Linked DNA regions of Homo sapiens: regions 1, 3 and 4 are each linked to region 2. The links are contacts of gene promoters, found by promoter capture Hi-C in blood cells and fetal thymus (Javierre and others, 2016). All regions are on one chromosome and are shown on one strand. Each heading gives the region's core, a stretch centred on a gene start or on the middle of the fragment in contact. The rest is flanking DNA. Distances are from core to core; before and after follow the strand shown. Region 1 overlaps MTMR2 (myotubularin related protein 2). Region 2 holds the start of CCDC82 (coiled-coil domain containing 82). Region 3 overlaps CEP57 (centrosomal protein 57). Region 4 overlaps MTMR2 (myotubularin related protein 2).

Region 1 (3,064 bases), core at 235-2,734, 520 kb after region 2:
CTTATGTGTTAACACTGATATAAGTACTTTAAATGTATTAACCCATTTAATTTTCATAACAACCTATGTGTGGTACTATAATAGTTACCATTTTATAGATGCGGAAAATGAGGCATAGAGAAGTTGAAAACCTTGCCTAAGAGTACCAAGTTAGTATGTGGTGCAGTCAGGATGTGAACCCAAGTCTATATTTTTGTATATGGCAAGTTTTTGCCTTTTTAACCCCATCTTCATAGGCTGGTCCTCCTTTCCTCTCTTCTTTCCTTCTTCTCTTCTTTTATGACTACATAAGACTATTTAGGGACTGGCAACTAGATAGCGTGTTTAAAAGATGACCTTTAAAGACGACTTTTCTGAAGTTTAGATGTGGCACATAAAAATATGTATGTGTGTATATACTATTTCTTTAGGTATTGCATTAAAGTTACTTTATGAAACAAATTGTTAAACTTTCAAAAGAATGAATTTGTTTAGATTGCAAATTTATTGAAAATAAGTTAATTTGTTCTTTGTAGTTCTTAGTTATTGGCCGCAGGTGAGCCAGATTGCGGAAGATGGAGGAATTAATGGGATTGGAGACAGAAATTTACTGTTTGATGGTGAGAGAGGTGGGAGGAGGTGAGGAAGGCTTTTGGTAGTTAATGGGGGATATATTTAGCATATGACAATTTGGGTGTGTCTGTGTGTTCTCTGGGTTGTAACTCCTTTAGAGAACTGTTTCTGTATCCACATTCTTGGAATATAGTGTAGCATCCTTCAAAAGGTAACTACCTGGTCATATTTGTTGATCATGAATTTATTTAAACTCTTTTTCAACAAGATGATTTATCAACATCATTTCTAAATTCTCTAAACATTAAATCTACACAAGAACTTAATTTTGTCTGAGTTTAAATGTACTATGGCCCTTCAGCATGGCTTTGGAATCCATTCAACTGTAGTTCAGATCTACACACTGGCACTTTAACTATGTGATCTTGAACTAATTACCACTTTCGGCTGCTTTTTCCTCATCTGAGAAATGAGGATATAATACCTCTTTTATTGTTAGGCTGTCTTAGGATGCAGTGCAAAAACATGTACAATTTTTTGTGTAACAAATGTAGAGTGCTTTGATATGATTTAAGCACTCAGTAAATGCTTTCTAGAAAAACATTAACTTCATATATTATACATGCCAACACTACAGTTTAACAAATTTGATTTAAAATAGTGTATGTGATATGATGTTATAACTTCAAGAGCAAGTATACTCAGTTGAAATATGAGTGAAAAAGTAGCCTTTGAATAAAAAAATGTTTCTTTTTTTGTCTTTCCCACCCCAGGTCCTGAGGGAGTCTAACAAGTTAGCAGAAATGGAAGAACCACCCTTGCTTCCAGGAGAAAATATTAAAGACATGGGTCCGTAATGGTATTTTTTGCTTAATGTCCTTCTCCGTTCTACTGTGCAGAATGTTCAGTACTCTCAGCATACAGAGAATAAACTGGCTGTCAGAGACACCTCCTGTCTGGCAGAACTCTTTACCTGCAGTCTTCTCAGCATCTTAGTGTGTTCTACAAACGTAAGCCTAGACCCGCTGCTAGTGTTTGTGTTTGAACTCCTGGGAAACATGCAAATTGAATTATACTTTGCCTCTTCTCTGGTTTGTTTTACTTTCTTTAAAAGTAGGTGGATTTTTGCTAAAACTGTTGCTGAAGCCTGTGAAGGAAAATTTTATTATTTTGAATTACTATATTCAGATATTGAGTTGCCTAGATAAAAACATTGAATTGTCACCTTATACAAGTAATTTTTCTTAAAATATCTTCTCTTCTGTTTGCTTCCTTCATGTCTTTCTTCTCTGAATAAAGTCAGGTTAATTTTTGGATGAAATACATCATCTCCATTGCATCTGTTTGTATGTAGATGCCCTTCTCTGCCCAGCCTAATACTTATAATATGGACTGGAAACTGAAAATGAGCTTACAAGCTGTGTTTTTTTTCCTCATGCTTTTGTTTTGTTTCATCTGTGTGATAATCTACAGATATCTACTCATAAACTCTGAGAAATAAAGTAATATGTTAGAAGAATGAAGTAAATGATTTCTTAGTTAATATAACTACCATGTTTCATTTTGTTACCAATCATAATTTTTAAAAAGGATTTTAAAAATGCTGAATTTTACTTGGCTAGGTGTCATTTCTATGTGTAAAAACAAGCCAAAGGCAGGACCTGTATTCTAAATGGATTATTATTTACTAAATTTAGCTTCCTAGTCCTTAGCATGCTATTTGTCTTTTCTTGCTCTTGGCTCTTGATTGAATAACCTCTCAGTCTTTTTCTTTTCCCCAGTTAGCCTTATATATACACCAAGCTCTTGATCTGAACTACCTACTTACATTTTTTCAGAATTGGCTATTATATAATGATAGTAGTTATTATTATTGAGTGCTTACTATCTCAGTCATTCTCAGAGAGTATATTCTTGAGAATAACATCAACCCCATTTTATAGGTGAGGAAGGAAACTAAGGCATAGGAAGATAACCTAGCTAATAAGGTTATATCTAGCATTGTGACAATTTCTTTTTCTTATTCTGAACTTAATGCCGTAATTGCAGCTCCCATTATGAAATATGGCTTTATTAAAGAACTTCAAGTTACCACTCAGTCTCATTTGTTGGCTCTTCTTCCTTTAATAGCAACACGCCCTAGGACTTCATCCTTGACCCATTTCCCTTTTCCCTCCTGTATACTCTTTTCGGTTGACCATATCTAAATTTGTAACATCACTTGCCATATATTGGCTGATGACTCCAAAATTTGTTATCTCCAGTGTGAACCCCTGTCCTAATGTAAGTAAACAAATGCCTCTATCTTAAACACACATCCTTGAATATCCCATAGGAACCTTATACCCAACATCTCCAAAATGGAAATCATCACGTTTAACTCCAAACTTACTCTTTTTCTTGCATTCTCTCTCTCAGTTGACATCAATACCAGCTGTCCATTTACTCAAGTCAGAAATCTGGTTGTCGTACTAGACTGCTCTTTTTTTCTTTTCTGGACTCTTAACATCCA
Region 2 (2,961 bases), core at 462-2,961:
GCTGAATCAATGAGGCCACATTAGGTGGTAAATATTTAGCAAATATTTGGCCATCATCTGACCTTAGGACATTTTCATTTGGATGTGTTGGTGAATTATCCAACAAGAGCACAGCCTTTTCCTGCAAGCCTTTAGATCTTAAATACTCTCGAACTTGCGGCACAAAAATTTTATCAAACCATTGTCGGAAAATGGAAAGATCCATCCATGCACCTTTTTGGCTGAAATAAGAGACTGGCAGGTTTAAGGTGTCAGTTGATTTAAAGGAGCGAGGTTTCTTTGCTTTCCCCACAACACAAAGTTTAAGTTTGTGTAAACCTGTTGCATTGGCACAACACATGATTGTGACTCTTTCTTCAATTGATTTGTGCCCAGGGACAGTGCATTTACCTTTGATTACTGAAATCCTAGAAGGCAAGCACTTCCAAAAGAGTCCAGTTTCATCTGCATTGTAGATTTGTTCAGGCTGTAAATTCTCTCGTTCAATAAAATCTCGAAAGTTATTACAAAAATCTTCCACCGCAGTCTCATCTCCATTTAATCTTTCATTTCTAATGTTAATCTCTCTAATGCTGTGCCGCTGCTTAAAACGAGTTAGCCAACCGGCAGAGGGGTTAAAATCACCATCCATTCCCAAAGCATAAAAGAAGAACTCTGCCCTTTTTGCACAAATTGGTCCAGATATGGGATTCCCTTTTGCTCTTTGCTGGTTGAACCATTCCAGCATTGCCCTGTCCAATTCCTCATACATGGATGGCTTCATAGATTTCCTCTTGGCCAAAAGACTTGTGGAATCAGAACTGCTTGCATAAGTTATAATCTTTTCCTTATTTTTTCTTATATCCCGAACTGTTGTTTCACCAATTCCATAAATCACTGCCAGTTGTTTGGAAGAACCTCCGTCTTCAAGTTTCTTTATTATATCAAGCTTATCTTTAATAGTCAACACCACACGCTTCCGTTTCCCTGACATAGCGAGGTTCTGGGACTCACCCCACACTCACAATGTAGCAATCCACAAAATCCTTCCTTCTCTTACACAGGCTCACTTCAACAGTCTTAACACACTCAGTCTTTCATCCTTACCAGCAACCTGGTGGCCCTGATCCCCTCCCGGGCTGGGGTTGGCTGGCAAATAGACTGCAGAAGAAGGTGAAAGAGGAGGAAGTTTGAGAGAACAGGCCTTTCTTTAACTTATACGGGCAGTAGCGGAGGCCCCATGTCACCGCGGATAATCCGGATTAAAAGCATGTGTTTTATTACCCCAGCAGCCGTGAGAAAGACTATACCCCCATTGTGGCCACGAACCTCCTGCACGTCCAGATCCCGGGTAACCGCGCGTCACTAACCCCTGCCACACCCCAAAGTTACGACAGAGAGCCGAAGAGCCTAGGAGTCAAGGACTGGCACCCTTCCTCAGGGGAACGGATATATTAGATTCCTTCCCCAGCAGCAGGGCCCTCCCGCCGCGCAGCCCCAGTTTCCCGCGCCAGCTTTAGCCGGGACAGTCCTCCCAGTCCCTCAAAACCCGCCAGGCCCCTCTCCCCACCTCTCTTGCAACCAGGACCCGCACAGCTCCCTGACTATCGCGCGGCAGTCGCTCCGCCCCTAGCCACGCTCCCGGAAGATGATCCCTCCCGCCGCCTGGCCCCACCCCTCGCCCCACCCAGAGGCGGGACTTCCCTTGGTCCCCGGAAGGGGGGGAGGAGCATCGCTTGTCCTGAGCTGGTTGCCGGGGCAGGGGCGGAGGCGGAGGCAGAGGTGGAGGCGCTTTGAAAGGTGAGAGCGCGAGGGCGGTGCGGGGCTGTCTCCCGGCTGGGACTCGCTCGCGCTCCCGGTGCTAATGGTTTATGAGAGGGGCGGGGGAAGCCGTGCCTCCTCGCGGACTAAGAGAAAAATTCCCGCGGGCGCTCTTTGGGTGGGCCGGAGAACGCCCCTCAGCCCTTTGCGCCTCTAACCCTCCTCAGCTGAGCTGCAGTGGGCGCGGTGCCCGTTATTTCCGCCTTGGGGAGGTGCTTGGAACTGATGTAGGGAGCTCGGTTGGTGATTTCTCGGGTTTCTGGCCTTTCCAGACCCTTGTAATTGTTTTCTCGGTGCAGAGCTCTTTTGGGGTCTGGGGGTTTCCGTCGTCCTGCGCGCGTCATCGCGAAGCTTGGCCTGAGGGTCCGGTTTCCTAGCTACTGTGCCCCTCCCTCCTGGAGGCAGAGTGACGGACTAGTGGGCTAGCGGGCGCTGGGTTCCTGCGTCCCGCCAAAGAGGTTTGTAATCATGAAAGTCACCCTTCCGGGTGTTAATTCCTGAGAGGATCTATTCCACTGTCTACCACTCATTCCTGCTGCATTAACCTTCATTGTTAACGGATTTTAATGAATAATATAGTTATCCCGGATACCATGCTGGCAGGATCCACTTTGCGAAATTGTGGACTGTTGGACTGTGATTCTAAGTGGGGGAAATAGGCTTTCCTCTCTTTATGTTTATTTTCTTATATCCTATTTCTGTCATGTTCTGTCTTGTTTTCCTGCCAATAGAAGAACTATGATAAATTTATTCATAGCAGTGTGATAAGAACTTGATCTTAATCATACACTGTAGCCCTCAAATCGTGTATTATGCTGGCTTGTTTTTGGTGTCCCTAGTAATTTCATCAGATTGTGAGCTCCTTGGGAGCAGAGACCATGTTTATTTGAAATGGTGGCAGCACAGTTCCTAGCAGGTGCTTGCATTTTGGTAGATATTCAATAATTATTTTTCGGCTTATTAATCTTTGCTCTCCAAACTGCCATATAAAAGAAAACATCGAAGAGGAGTGATGTTTTACACCCAAGAATGGATCCCTCCTGGTAGAATTTCAAATAATGACCTGGGGTTCCACTGCCTTTCAAATCTGTAAAGTGTTAACTACCACCTGCATTGTTTATACAGCAAGTAGGTGATTTCTAGAATGAATCTTTTCTTGAG
Region 3 (2,885 bases), core at 160-2,659, 560 kb after region 2:
TATGCTAAGTGACTAAAAGTGTCTTCTTTCTTAATCCACTTACCAATTCTCAATGAACAAATGTCTTCAGTAAAGAAGTATCTCCTGTAGATATTTATCTATGATACACTTAGTGTCATCATTTAATATTTGAATTAAAGTGTTTTTTTTTTCTTAATCATTAGAAACTTGAGTGAAGGAAAACTGAGTTACCTGGGCTTGGTATTTTCGAACTTTAGTTATTTGGTTGGCTTTTGCTTCCATCCTTCCCACTAATGCCTCCAATTCACACTCCAACTTGTCTTTCAGTTCAACGGTTGGCGACTCCTGGATAAGTTTTGCAAGCTGCTGGTGATCACTATATACAAAGCAGAAGTAGAACATGGTTAAGTTTTCTGTGTTTCATGGTTAGGTCTATTATACCTCATTATGGGTTACTGCTCCATGTGTTTAAAAAATGACTCCATTTTTTGAACAGAGCAATAAATTTTTTTTTTTTTTTTGAGACGGAGTCTTGCTCTGTCGCCCAGGCTGGAGTGCAGTGACATGATCTCGGCTCACAGCAAGCTCTGCCTCCCGGGTTCACGCCATTCTCCTGCCTCAGCCTCCCGAGTAGCTGGGACTACAGGCGCCTGCCACCATGCCTGGCCAATTTTTTGTATTTTTAGTACAGACAGGTTTTCACCCTGTTAGCCAGGATGTGATATGCCCACTTCAGCCTCCCAAAGTGCTGGGATTACAGGTGTGAGCCACCATGCCTAGCCTAGATCAAGAAATTTTTAATTAAAAATATGAATTTAAAAGTTCAAGAAAGGCACTAGAGGGAAATGCAAGAGTTCTTAATTTCAAGGTTAATTCTTTATATTCTTATTTTCCCCAAAAGAGTATTGTATATGTAAAGTCTACAGATGAATCTTGCTCTTCAAACACTCATGTCTTATCAGTTAAGTTTAGCTAAAATGAATGTGATGTCAGGTGCCAGATGATGATGTAGTAAACAACAGACCACATATACAACAGTGGTCCCGTAAGACTTTAGTATCATATTTTTACTCTACCTAGATGTTTATATACACAAATACTTACCATTGTGTTACAACTGCATATAGTATTTAGTAGTAGAGTAACATGCTGTATAGGTTTGTAGCCTAGGAGCAATAAGCTATAAGCTTAGCACACTCTTATGTTAGCACAAGGAAAAGAAAATCGCCTAATGATGTATTTCTCAGAGCACATCTTTGTCATTCAGTGATGCATGACTGTATATCATAAGTTCTCAAAGAAATAAAACTTAAATATAAACCTTGGTCTTCAAAACATTTAACAGTATTTAAAAAGAGAGAGATTTTACCCTTATTAGTTGTATTTGTTAAAGTCCCAGTAACTTGGTTGGTATAAGGATTGTGCTCAACCATACTTGCTCAACAAAGGAAAGTAAGATTTAATAAAGTCAACAAGTTTTTAAAAAATGAGGTTTTAGAGCTAAACTGAATTTAAAAAAAAAAACAAAAACTCACAAGCTCATTTGCCCAAATTCATCCTGTAAAGTCTGTAAGACTTCTGACAACTCCTCATTAATACCGTTGGAGGAGGGAGGTGTTACTGACAACTTCTTACTTTTACCACCTCGTGAAGATACTTGCTTTGCCAAAGGAATACTGTTGATGACTCGATCATTGCACAAAGCTTTACTGTGTTGCTTCATTAGATGCAAGACAAGCTGAACATTGGCTACCACGGCATGGCTAGGGCTTGTGGACTAAAGGAAGAAAAATGATGAAAGAAGTAATTGAAGTTATATTCTCTACACCACTTTCTATTCCCTAAGCCTAGGTAAAAAGAACTCTCCACCCCCTAAAGTAGAGTATATAAATCCTAAAATTATTCTCATCATGATGTTCTTCTATTTGAAATCCTTTGATATAAATCCACTAACTATGTTTCAGAATGGAAAATAAGGCCCTACATACACATCATTGAGCTGCAACCTACATTTCCTAGCCTCATGTCCTATCATCCTCCCCTTCTCTCCATTTTGTGAACAAACCATATTTGCAGATGACATTTTTTTGGTGTATTAGCAACATTTATATCATTCTTTAAAACCCAGTTCAAATATATTATTTTTAAAGGCTTCCTTAAAACTGCCAGGTAATCAATCAGTCCATTATCAGATCACCTATAACACTTTTTACATCTCTCTCATAGCATTTATCATATTTTAATTGCTTTTACATATCTATTTCACCTATTAAACAGTGTACATCCAGGTGGTAGACACTATTGTTCATTTCTGTATCCTGGAATAATAGGAAGCACTAAATTACATGTCTATCACGTGTGTAAGAAAAACCTGATAGACTTCTCAAAGATATTTTGCTTTTGTTTTAAACACTAAACCAACAATCTCAATGTACTATTCCACTTTATAAATAGATGGCTGGGCTTACTTGGCTCCATAAATATTATTAGAAAGCATATTTAAAATGCAGGTTCCTAGGCAGCACACCAAACTCACTGCAGAGTTAGGGTTTGGAAATTTGTGTTTTCAAGTCCTCCAGTTGATTTTGATTAGCCAGATTTGGAACCACCATGCTAAGCTAAACATATGCTTTCCTTCTAATCTTAGTTTCTATTGTTAGCTAGCAAAGTGAATGCAGCAGTATTATATATCACATCCAAGTGGGAGTTTATTACATCAATGCAAGGCTGGTCCACTATTCAAAAATCAATCGATGTAACCACTATTTTGCTCGTAACTTGTAATATATATTTAGCATACTAATTGCCTATGAGTACACTTTCAATATGCAATAATTTAAAAAATTCTCGTTCTGTTATTTTTCTGATTATATTAATATGCACTTGACCCTTGAACAATGGAGGGGTTAGGGGCACCGACCACC
Region 4 (2,906 bases), core at 12-2,511, 550 kb after region 2:
AGATACTGAATTAGGATCATTGGACAATGAGGTCTAGGCACTTCAGGCTTACAAATGACTCTTGATATATAGTCAAGATCGTCATAGTACCCCATTTCCAGAATATGCTTATAGCTGTGATCAAGGGGAGGTTATCATACTTCCAAGCTTAATAATCTGTTTTCTTTCATTCTCATCTGCGTATGTAGAACTATACTGTTTTTCAAGTATAATACAATATGGCCATTGCAGAGAAGAATAGGGCTGTATTGTCCTTTTTTTTTTTTTTTTTTTTTAAGATACCATACTTTTGTGTTTCTTTTTTGGTTATATCTAATTATGTTTAGTTTTAACTCAAGATTGACTTCAGAAAAGGTAAGTTATTTTGCAAAGGATTTCTGCATATTTAAAAAAATAAGAGCTGAAGTTATTTTAAGTAACAGATTGACATATTCTGTGAATTTTCATGCAGTGTTACAGAAAAGTAGCTCACTCTAAAGTTTATACTGTGCTTGCTGTATGCTCTGTGACATAAAAATCTTTAGTCAAAACAATACAATAACTGCTATAGAGTATTTTAAAGAGATCCAGTATTATTGCTTTCAGGTGCTTATCCCAATTTGGTTTAAGCATTGTTTTAAATCATAACAAGGCTTCAATTGCTATATCAATTATTTTTATTTAAATAGATGATGGAATATTTGATTCTTAGAAACAGATCTCTTTAGAACTTTTCTAAGAAGAATCTTACACCATGATTTATGTAGCACCCAAAGGTACTTTTGATTTGGCTATTTCGTTGGGCAAATTAATAGGAGTCAGCAATTATGAGGTTTTTCTAGTTTTAAAAGCAAAATTTATATATCTTCTACCATTTAAAAAAATTCTTCTTAGGAAGGGACAAATGTTTTTCCTCATGTTATTGAAATAATGATCCCTGATAAGCTGTATTAGTAAATTTTGAAGAAGGAAGTATTTACCTTGTTTAAAAACAATGTATTAAAAAATCTGTTTTCCAGCTTATTCTTGCAGGGGCTCTTAGGATTGCTGACAAGGTAGAGTCAGGGAAGACGTCTGTGGTAGTGCATTGCAGTGATGGTTGGGATCGCACAGCTCAGCTCACTTCCCTTGCCATGCTCATGTTGGATGGATACTATCGAACCATCCGAGGATTTGAAGTCCTTGTGGAGAAAGAATGGCTAAGTTTTGGACATCGATTTCAACTAGTAAGTAAGGAACCTTGACTTTGGATATATCACATGCATTCATGCCAAGGCATGTGAAAAAAATGTGTTTTTTAAAATAAGATATTCATCTGAAATTGATCATTTATCTAGTGGGGTAAACGTTTTTGCTTGTTTTGGAAAGCATTAAGATATCCCTAACATGACTAGTCTGGAGTCAGAGCTAGCTATTTGTCAAGTGTCTGACCCAGTCTTTTCTGTGATCTCCACTGGGAAACATCGGATATCATTCAGTGATGTCCACGGGTGTTTCTGGGCAGGCGTTTTCCTAAATAATTGAAAAACTTTTAGAAGGGTCTTTACCCAGATGCTGTCTGTAATGTTTACCTTTAGTATCCAGTAGTTACCAGAGTATACTAGCAGTGTTTATACAGTTGTCCCTTGGTATATGTGGGGGCTTGGTTCCCAGATCCCATGAACAGGCCAAAATCCACACATATTCAAGTTCTGAAGCTGGCCCTGCTGGGACCATGTAAAGTTGGCCCTCTGTGTATGTGGGTTCCGCATCCTGCATTTGGCTGAAACAAATCTGCATATAAGTGGACCTGTGCAGTTCTAACCGTGTTGTTCAAGGGTTAACTGTAACATGAAAGGAACAGACATTTAAAGTTAGTCTGCTCTTTTGAACTTGAACTGTTAAATAAAATTGGGTACCTGGAGTGTTTATTCAGATGGCTCACATTTTGCCGTTCTCTACACAATGTACTTATCATGAAACGGCCATTTAAAACAAACTCGTACTTCAAAGAATCAAGTTTTAGTCAGCCAAAGCTGCACATGTTTATATAAATGTGTTCAAAATCAAACATTTTGGGGTGTTCGAAGTTGCTATGGATTCCTAAATTGCTAACTCTGGTTACCTACTCCCCCCGTTCTTTTTACCTAGTTATATTCTGAAAATAGAATCTTGACAATTAAAGGGCACCCAGTCAAGAGGATTTGCTCACAAGGTTAATGTAGAGTAATGATTCTCAAACTTTTTGGTTTCAGGACCCCCTTTACATTGTTAACAATTATGGATAGAACTTTTTTTTCCTAACTCCCCAAACTTGTTACCCAGAGAACTTTATGTGAGTTATATCAATATTTGCCATATTGAAAATTAAATTTGAAAAAATTTAAAAATATTTCTTAATTTAGGAAATAAGCTTATTATATATTAACAGAAATATTTAAACTAAAAAAAATATTTTCCAAAACAAAAAGTTTAATGAAAAGACTGGCATTGTTTTACTTTTGCAAATTTAATGAGTTTGGCTTAATAGAAGATAGCTGAATTTTATATCTATTTTTACCTTCAATCTGTTATGTTTTGTTGGTTTTAGTATATGAAGAATATCTAACCATATACAGATATGTAAGTGGAAAAGCAGAAAGTATTTTAATAGCTTTTTCAGGGAATTGTAGATATTCTTCTTTGATACTACGCCAGAACTTGATAAATGGTAGTTTCTTAGAGGTTAGTTGTTATATGGAATCCAAAATCAAGTTAATGAATTTTTTTTATCATTAAATTCCATTGGTCTCACTTCCATTTTGAATAGATCTTTTACCCATGTGTGGTTTTGTAACATCACATATTGGTTATTTGGAAAATACTGGCTTATTGAGTTACACAGATCTTCCAAATGTAAATGCATTTCATCATATAATACCATAAAATCACACTTGTTAATCATCACC

What was found. The method cuts DNA at HindIII sites, captures the fragments that hold promoters and counts their contacts. A CHiCAGO score of 5 or more calls a contact.
Region 1: a contact is called between a fragment that was not itself captured here and the fragment with the promoter of CCDC82 in region 2, in 14 of 17 cell types (total CD4 T cells, M2 macrophages, endothelial precursors and 11 more). The highest score is 8.8, in total CD4 T cells.
Region 3: a fragment that was not itself captured here is called in contact with the fragment with the promoter of CCDC82 in region 2 in 17 of 17 cell types (naive CD4 T cells, naive CD8 T cells, naive B cells and 14 more); the score reaches 21.3 in naive CD4 T cells.
Region 4: a contact is called between a fragment that was not itself captured here and the fragment with the promoter of CCDC82 in region 2, in 17 of 17 cell types (naive CD4 T cells, endothelial precursors, total CD8 T cells and 14 more). The highest score is 33.9, in naive CD4 T cells.

What each region holds. Positions count from the first base shown.
Region 1 is chr11:95,863,938-95,867,001 of GRCh38, reverse strand. MTMR2 (myotubularin related protein 2) reads left to right here. Exons shown (of 15, transcript NM_016156.6): 3 at 1,326-1,401. Among named protein-coding and RNA genes, the nearest start is that of MTMR2, 59 kb to the left of the region's middle. The HindIII fragment of the contact is 3,847 bases long and covers 1-3,064 here.
Region 2 is chr11:96,388,662-96,391,622 of GRCh38, reverse strand. It overlaps CCDC82 (coiled-coil domain containing 82), which reads left to right and starts at 1,711. Exons shown (of 10, transcript NM_024725.4): 1 at 1,711-1,779. JRKL (JRK like) reads right to left here and starts at 1,610. Exons shown (of 2, transcript NM_001261833.2): 1 at 1,550-1,610; 2 at 1-1,140. The coding sequence starts at 973. RefSeq lists a silencer at 1,538-1,797. The HindIII fragment of the contact is 1,223 bases long and covers 931-2,153 here.
Region 3 is chr11:95,826,639-95,829,523 of GRCh38, reverse strand. CEP57 (centrosomal protein 57) reads right to left here. Exons shown (of 11, transcript NM_014679.5): 9 at 1,497-1,738; 10 at 193-337. Among named protein-coding and RNA genes, the nearest start is that of CEP57, 38 kb to the right of the region's middle. The HindIII fragment of the contact is 517 bases long and covers 1,151-1,667 here.
Region 4 is chr11:95,843,252-95,846,157 of GRCh38, reverse strand. It overlaps MTMR2 (myotubularin related protein 2), which reads left to right. Exons shown (of 15, transcript NM_016156.6): 11 at 999-1,205. Among named protein-coding and RNA genes, the nearest start is that of CEP57, 54 kb to the right of the region's middle. The HindIII fragment of the contact is 2,224 bases long and covers 150-2,373 here.